Linked DNA regions of Homo sapiens: all the other regions are linked to region 2. The links are contacts of gene promoters, found by promoter capture Hi-C in blood cells and fetal thymus (Javierre and others, 2016). All regions are on one chromosome and are shown on one strand. Each heading gives the region's core, a stretch centred on a gene start or on the middle of the fragment in contact. The rest is flanking DNA. Distances are from core to core; before and after follow the strand shown.

Region 1 (2,700 bases), core at 1-2,500, 220 kb before region 2:
TTTTCTGAGTTGGAAGGAAGCAAACTAAAAGCATCTAGTACAACTCTAGTGTGCAAAAAGGTGTGATGGCCAGCAAATAGATGGGCAGACCCTCACTACTCAGGACATCTTCCAAACCAGGCAGAATCCTACCTGTCTTATCCTACTTGCATCATTTCTTCTTCTCTACGCAGGAAGACTATAATTTCCAGCTAGCAACAGGAGAGAAGATAAAATAGGGATTGCATCCCAATAAACATCAATCTTTTGTGGTCCCTGAAATAAGTGTATCCTTCCAATAAAAACTCTTATCTACTGTAGGTAGGCTCTGTTCCTTGTAATCCCCAACTAAGACAGTCCAAAATTAATACTGGTAAAAATACAAGAGAAGAAATCCAGGTTCACTCCCCGTGAGAGAAGTGAGGCAGGATGTTACTTACGTAATAGGGAAATTGACAATAGTTGGATTCTTCTCAACAAAGAAGTTGTTCTTAGTGAATCTCTTGATACAAAAGATTAGATATGGAGGCAACTTGGTAAGCTGGAAGCGCTTCAGAAAGTTCTCCTTGTAAGTCTTATATTCCTAGAGAAAGAAAAGAAAATTCTCAAATTAGTGCTGAAGTTCAGTAGTATTAGAGCAGGGGCATGAGTTTTTCATTTCGATTTTTTAAAATATAATTTTGCCTCACACTTAAGTTCACAAGACTCCTGGTCCGAGAAATTATGTATGAGGCTTAGGATGTGCAGTTTGGCTAAGGCTGATTTAAAAAAAAAAAAAAAAAAAAAGGCCGGGCCTGGTGGCTCACACCTATAATCCTATCACTGTAGGAGGCCGAGGCAGGGGGATCATTTCAGCACAGGAGTTCGAGACCAGCCTTGACAACATGGTGAAACCCCATCTCTACTAAAAAGGAAAAAGAAAAAAAAAGAAAAAAAAAATATATATATATATATGTAAAGAAAGAAAACTAACCAGGCACGGTGGCTCATGCCTGTAATCCCAACACTTTGAGAGGCTGAGGCAGGCAGATCACTTGAGGCCAGGAGATCGAGACCAGCCTGGCCAACAGGGTGAAACCGCATCTCTACTAAAAATACAAACATTAGCTGGGCATGGTGGCATGTACCTGTAGTCCCAGCTACTCGGGAGGCTGAGGCAGAAGAATCGCTTGAACCCGGGAGGTGGAGGTTGCAGTGAGCTGAGATCACACCACTGCACTCCAGCCTAGGCAACAGAGTGAGACTCCATCTCAAAAAAAAAAAAAAAGTATGTCTCCCCACTTTTTGGAGTTTCTCCTCTCCTAAATGACCTTCCTTTCTCTATACTACCCCAGAGGCAGGCAGAAAGCTGAAAACAGGATATATGAGAAGTACAAGAGGGGGCACTGTGGTTGGGCAGTGGTTCACATCTGTAATCCCAACACTTTGGGAGGTCGAGGTGGGAGGATCCCTTGAGGCCAGGAGTTAAAGAATGGCCTGGGCAACAAAGTGAGCACTCTCTCTACAAAAATACTTAGTTGGATGTGGTGGAGTGTGTCTAGTCCCAGCTACTTAGGATGCTGAGGTGAGAGGATCACTTGAGCCCAGGAGTTTGAGGCTGCAGTGAGCCATGATCACGCCACCATGATCACCCAGACTAGGTGATAAAGCTAGACCCTGTCTCAAAAAATAATAAAAAGGGGCACTATAAGTTAAGAGTTGGGGGTGACCAGTGAGAAATACCAACGAGTCTGGGAGGCTCAATAAAGTCAATATAATTTATAATAAATACGTCACATACATGTGGTGATTCTTACATATAAAATGAAAATGGGCCAGGTGTGGTGGCCCACGCCTGTAATCCCAGCACTTTGGGAGGCGAGGCAGGCTGATCACTTGAGGTCAAGAGTTCGAGACCAACCTGGCCAACATGCTGTCTCTACTAAAAATATAAAAAATTAGCCAGTCATGGTGGCGGATGTCTGTAATCCCAGCTACTAGGAAGGCTGAGGCAGGAGAATCGCTTGAAACTGGGAGGTAGAGATTGCAGTCAGCCGAAATCACGCCACTGCACTCCAGCCTGGGCGACAAGAGCAAAACTCTGTCTTGAAAAAAAAAAAAAAAAGAAAATGAAAAAGTCGAGAGAGCGAGGGTAAGTATAGGCAGGGCAGGTGTGTTAATGGGCTACCTTCTCAGTGATGCCATTGAACTTAGCCAGGATGTTGAAGAGTGGCACTTGGGGAATGATGAGCTGCTCCTTCTCGTCCTTGTAGAGGGGGGCAGTAGGAAGGTCCAGCGTCAGGTACATAAAAGTGGACTCCACCATTGTCTCCTGGTACTCGTCATTATGGAGCAACTGCTCTTTTTCTTCTGCTGGCTAGAAATGAATGAGAAGAAAAGAGAGGAAAGGAGTGTGACGGGTATAGGAACCAACACAGAACCGATGTTTTACCACGCCGACATTTCCTTCATCTGAAAGAACAAAGAGAAGTGCCCGAGAGATTGGGCAGTTTGGCATGCACCACCTGGTTAGATTAACTTAAGAACCAACAGGTTTCCTTCTTTAAAGATATTTTGCTTATATACCAGACTATCTAAAAAGCCCTGAGGCCAAGTGTGATGGCTCACGGCTGTAATCTCAACACTTTGGGAACAAAGGTGAGAGGACTGCTTGAGTCCAGGACTTCCAGACCAGCCTGGGCAACACAGTGAGACTCCATCTCTACAAAAAAAAAAAAAAAT
Region 2 (2,700 bases), core at 201-2,700:
CACTGCACTCCAGCCTGGGAGACAGAGCGAGACTCTGTCTCAGGAAACAAACAAACAAACAAACAAACAAAACAGAACGGGCTCTTATTAAAGAGTCCAGGGACTGAGTCAATAGCTGTCTCCAAGTTTCTATGGTACCTATCTCTCCTCTCTAGGGGCAAAAGGGCTACTCAACAAAAGGCTGATTGTTTTAACAGAAACACTCAGAAAACCAAACCTTTGAGAACTTCCCAGGCAGAAATAGGCATGCTTAGAGACCACGCGACCAGTTAATATGAACCCCACATCTGCTATCAAGAGAATCTGGGCAATCTACTTTGAATATCCCTTTTGGAGCTGTTTCTAGGTGTTTAGAGATCAAATGAAATATTTCTAGGAAGTAGCTCGCCTCGAACTAACCACACAAGAATGAAATCTCACTGACTTACAAGGTCATGGCTAAACCTTCATTGACTAGGTATTTTCCTCCTTCCTTGATGATCCAGTATGTAGCAGTATATGCCCAGATCAGGAAGTGTAAAAGCTGAAAATGGAGTTGGAGACAGAAAGTCCAATGTGTTGCTGGCCACTGTGGTGTCACTGCTCCCGATACAGGTGTAACCTGAGTCTCCCGCTTGGGAGCCAGAAATCAGCTGAGAAGAGGCCTCTGGAAAGAGGCTGCCCTGGCCCAGAAGGGTGGATGAAGTAGGGCCTCAGCACAGCTCATCCTACCGAGCAGGCCGGACCCTGAGTTCCTGGCTTGCACTGAAGGGTCTGGGTAAGTCCCTTCTGTAGCGCCTCAGAAGCTCCTTGGGCAACCTGGGAAGTTAGGACAAGAGCTCTGACATTTGACCCTGAGGTGTGAGGAGAGTGCTTTGAGAGAGAGGATGCTGAATGCGAGCGCCCTGGTTATTACCTCCTGGCAGCCTCCTAACCTCACCTTGACTCTGCCATGTAAAATTGATGCCTGGGCGCAGGGCGCCGACGATGGTCAGATACCGCGGCCTGCACACCCTGGGACCTACATCCCTGACCTGGAGGACCCAGGCCTTCCCCGGGCTTCACCACGAGTCCTGCCGGCCACACAGGGACCCTAACAGACCTAGTCCAGTCTCAGGGTCTGGGCTGCTCCTCCTTCCAGGAATGGGAGTTTGCTCTAGGCGATGGAGGAAGGGTTCAGGAGGCCACTCTGCCTGCTTAGCAGGCTGTGGGCCCAACCCCCCACCCACCATCTTCATCTCCCACGGCCCCAACCTCGTAGGGAGGGCAGGGCGGGGCTCAGGTTCGCAGAGAAGGAGGGCTCGGACCAGCGACTCCAGGGCAGAGGGGCGCGTGCAGGGGTGGGGAGCTGGGTTTGCGAGGAGAGAAGGCCATCTCTTCCCCAGCAGGGTAGCCCCCACCTAGCTACCGGGATCCCACCCTGGCTGGCGCAATCTTTGCGTCCGGATCAGCACCCAAGGCCCCGCCCAACGGCCCGCTGCCTGCCGGGATTTGTAGTTTGTAGGGGAGGGGCCAAAAGGCGCGCGCGCGCGCGTGTGTGTGTGTGCGTGTGTGACTGTGTGTTTGTGAGACTGTGTGTGTAAGTGTGTCCGGGGGTCTGTTGTGGTGCTCCCGTCCCCGAGGGCCCTCCGGACCTGGGCTCAGCAAAGGCACCACAGGCCGCAGCTTCCGAGACCCCGCCCCGCGGCCCACTGCCTGCTGGGATTTGTAGTTCTTAGGGGTCTAGGGCCCAGGCTGGGGCCGGGTTGGGGCCTTACACGCGTCCTGGCGTGTGGCTCTCCTGCGTCCTCGTTTTTCTCGTGAGCCCTGGATCTGGACAGTGGGCCCGGCGCGAGGCCCTCAACTCCGGCTGGGCTCCCGGTGGCACTTTCTGCCGACCCTGAGATGTACCCGCCACGCCTGCGGGACTGACCTCTAGGTGGGCAAACCGAGGCACAAAGAGGGGCGCGCTCTGGCCGGAGTCGGCCCTCTTGTGAGAATTTGGGCTGGGAGACCCAGCCCAGGCCTGGCAGGCAAGGCTGGGTCAGGCGAGGGTCCTGGGCCCTTTCGGTGTAAGAGTGTGCAAAATAATGAACAGGCCTGCCCAGGACTGGCTCTGCACATTAGCGCTAGTTACCTTACAGGCTTGACTGATCAGATTTTTATTTGGCACCACTACAGAGGGGAGCCCAGGGAGGGAGGAAGTCTCTCGTGACCAAGAAAACCTATGGTCCACCCTGGCCTACAACTCTGCTTTAACGACAAAAATAAACCGAGTTTGGGAGGGGGTGAGGAGGAGGGGTGTTTTGTAAACTGTGAAGTCCAGGTTATGAGTGAGGTGTTATTATCATCAGGATCAGACCTCAAAGCACTGGAGGAAAGGTCTGGGCCTTCAAGAGCCTCACCTCAAAAGGGAGGGTATGGCCGGGCGCAGTGGCTCACGCCTGTAATCCTAGCATTTTGGGAGGCTGAGGCAAGCAGATCACCTGAGGTCAGGGGTTCAAGACCAGCCTGGCCAACATGTCGAAACCCCATCTCTACTAAAAATAGAAAAAATTACCCGGGCGTGGTGGCACGTGCCTGTAATCCCAGCTACTCGGGAGGCTGAGGCAGGAGAATTGCTTGAACTCAGGAGGCGGAGTTTGCAGTGAGCCGAGATGGTGCCACTGCACTCCAGCCTGGGCAACAGAGCCAGACTCTGTCTCAAAAAAAAAAAAAAAAAAAAAAAGAGCTGAGATAGCT
Region 3 (2,700 bases), core at 160-2,659, 190 kb before region 2:
AGTGGCTCGATCTCGGCTGACTGCAACCTCCGCCTCCCGGGTTCAAGCGATTCTCCTGCCTCAGCCTCCCAAGTAGCTGGGATTACAAGCACCGGCCATCAAGCCCAGCTAATTTTTTGTATTTTTTTTTAGTAGAGACGGGGTTTCACCATTTTGGCCAGGCTAGTCTCGAACTCCTGACCTCTTGATCTGCCCGCCTGGGCCTCCCAAAGTGCTGGGATTACAGGCGTGAGCCACCACGCCCGGCTCTTTCTTTCTTTTTTAATGTATTTTTTTCTTGTAGAGACGATGTCTCGCTGTGTTGCCCAGGCTGGTCTCAAATTCCTCCCTCCAGCGATACTCCCACTTCGGCATCCCAAAGTTTTGGAATTACAGACATGAGCCACTGCATCCAGCCGTTTGTCCCTGTCCTAATCATGAATTCCTGATTTTGACTTTTGTAAAAGGACTTGAGAATTTTACACGCTGTGACGTGAACCCAGTGGTCAGAAAAAATAGAAAAAAAAAAAAAAGGGGCCGGGCACGGTGGCTCATGCCTGCAATCCCAACACTTTGGGAGGCCGAGGCAGGCGGATCACCTGAGGTCAGGAGTTCGAGACCAGCCTGGCCAACGTGGTGAAACCTTATCTCTACCAAAAATACAAAACTTAGCCGGGCGTGGTGGCACGCGCATGTAGTCCCAGCTACTCGGGAGGCTGAGGCAGGAGAATCGCTTGAACCCGGGAGGCGGAGGTTGCAGTGAGCCGAAATCACGCCAATGCACTCCAGCCTGAGCGACAGAGTGAGACTCCTTCTCAAAAAGAAAAAAAAAAGGAAAAATAAATAAAAAAGAAAATAATACACCCGTAGGTCCCTCAAAAACCCTGGGTCCTCCCGCGGGGACAGTTAAGCCATCGGCGCCGTGAGCAGGAGGCAAGCCGGGCCAGGAGAGCCTTCGCGGCGCCTGCGGCCTGGGCGCCGCTGTTGCCCTGCCTGAGCACTTCAAGGCCTCACAATCCATTTGAGGTAGGTGCTCTAGGTGTTCCCATTTACTAATGAGGAAACTGAGAAGTGGCAGCGTTACACAGTCAGCCAAAGTCACGCAGATGGCGATGGATTGCACAGCATCCTATTACCAGAAAAAAGATGGGAAGGCACCGCCGTAAGCATCGAGTTGTGTTATAGATGATTTGCATTTTTCTGAAGGTTCTGGTATCAGCTGTAAGCCGAAGTCCTTGTTTCCTATTGATATGTTACGAAAAAACAAACAAAAAAAAACAAAAACAAAAGCCCTCCGTCCGGGGGGTGGAAGTCAAGCATACCCTACTCCACCCGACCCGACCAGACCCGAAAACTCCGTGCGCTGCATCGCTTGGCCAGGCCGGGGCCTCCCAGACCGGAAGTCAGGATGCGGGGCCGGAAGCTGAGCAAGGGGCGGCGCGGAGCTCTGTGGGCGGGTGGCTGTTGTTGGGGCCGTCGAGGCGGCGGCGACTCTGCGTCCCCGGCTCCTGATGGAGGCGGGGCCGCATCCCCGGCCGGGGCACTGCTGCAAGCCTGGGGGGCGGCTGGACATGAACCACGGCTTCGTGCACCATATCCGACGGAACCAGATCGCTCGGTACCGCCCCGCCCTGCGCCGCCGCCGCCACCACTCCTGGCCTGGCCTGGCCCGGCCCGACAGTCCCTGACTCCCGCTCGGCTCCCCGCAGGGACGACTATGACAAGAAGGTGAAGCAGGCGGCCAAGGAGAAGGTGAGGAGGCGGCACACGCCCGCGCCGACGCGGCCCCGCAAGCCAGACCTGCAGGTGTACCTGCCGCGACACCGAGGTGAGGCCGCCCGCCCCGCCTGCCTCCAGCCCGCGCGCTCTTCCTGCAACGCACTCCCCTTCTCTATAGGGAAAAACCACTTCTTACTCCTAAGGTTCAGCTCATCTCGTCTCTTTCCGGAACCTCCACCTCAGCGCTCCCAAATCTCCGCTGAATGATTCTCACCAAGAACTGGGACGACTCATAAGCCCCCAGTTAAGCATCGCTGTCAGAGTATCGGGGAGCCAGCAAGAAGTTTATCTGCCGGTTTGCCCCACCGTGCTGTATTTTAGTAAGGTGCTCCGCTACCTAGCAAAGAGAAAGTCTGGCACAGCGATGAGCGACCAGCACATAATTGCGGAATGAACCCAGTAAATGGCCTTTCCCCAGCTTCTCTGCTACCTAGAGATCACACTGGTTAATATATGACGGTCAATTTTTGTTAAGCATTATTACTTTTTTTAAAATGTTTTTATTTTATTTTTGAGACTAGGTCTCTGTCGCCCAGGCTGGAGTGCAATGGTGCGATCTGGGCTTACTGCAGCCTTAGCCTCCCGAGTACCTGGGACCACAGGCGTGTGCCACCACACCGGTTAATTTTGGTATTTCTTGTAGAGAAGGGGTTTCCCCGGCTGGGCGCGGTGGCTCTCGCCTGTAATCCCAGCACTTTGGGAGGCCGAGGCGGGCGGATCACGAGGTCAGGAGATCGAGACCATCCTGGCTAACATGGTGAAACCCCCGTCTCTACTAAAAATACAAAAAATTAGCCGGGCGTGGTGGTGGGCGCCTGTAGTCCCAGCTACTCGGGAGGCTGAGGCAGGAGAATGGCGTGAACCCGGGAGGCGGAGCTTGCAGTGAGCCGAGATCGCGCCACTGCACTCCAGCCTGGGCAACACAGCAAGACTCGGTCTCAA

The links. The method cuts DNA at HindIII sites, captures the fragments that hold promoters and counts their contacts. A CHiCAGO score of 5 or more calls a contact.
Region 1: a contact is called between a fragment that was not itself captured here and the fragment with the promoter of SH2D6 in region 2, in 1 of 17 cell types (endothelial precursors). The highest score is 5.5, in endothelial precursors.
Region 3: the fragment with the promoter of C2orf68 here is called in contact with the fragment with the promoter of SH2D6 in region 2 in 8 of 17 cell types (endothelial precursors, erythroblasts, monocytes and 5 more); the score reaches 7.6 in endothelial precursors.

What each region holds. Positions count from the first base shown.
Region 1 is chr2:85,638,838-85,641,537 of GRCh38, reverse strand. It overlaps USP39 (ubiquitin specific peptidase 39), which reads right to left. Exons shown (of 13, transcript NM_006590.4): 9 at 2,147-2,335; 10 at 420-562. Among named protein-coding and RNA genes, the nearest start is that of USP39, 24 kb to the right of the region's middle. The HindIII fragment of the contact is 4,567 bases long and covers 1-2,700 here.
Region 2 is chr2:85,417,464-85,420,163 of GRCh38, reverse strand. SH2D6 (SH2 domain containing 6) reads right to left here and starts at 1,450. Exons shown (of 24, transcript NM_001394463.1): 1 at 1,234-1,450; 2 at 920-1,135. It also overlaps a transcript of CAPG not described here. RefSeq lists enhancers at 1,830-1,989, 1,468-2,003, 2,000-2,109. The HindIII fragment of the contact is 6,915 bases long and covers 1-2,700 here.
Region 3 is chr2:85,610,775-85,613,474 of GRCh38, reverse strand. It overlaps C2orf68 (chromosome 2 open reading frame 68), which reads left to right and starts at 1,409. Exons shown (of 4, transcript NM_001013649.4): 1 at 1,409-1,597; 2 at 1,689-1,807. The coding sequence starts at 1,491. It also overlaps a transcript of USP39 not described here. RefSeq lists silencers at 909-1,081, 1,568-1,637, 1,257-1,638 and an enhancer at 1,068-1,297. The HindIII fragment of the contact is 26,854 bases long and covers 1-2,700 here.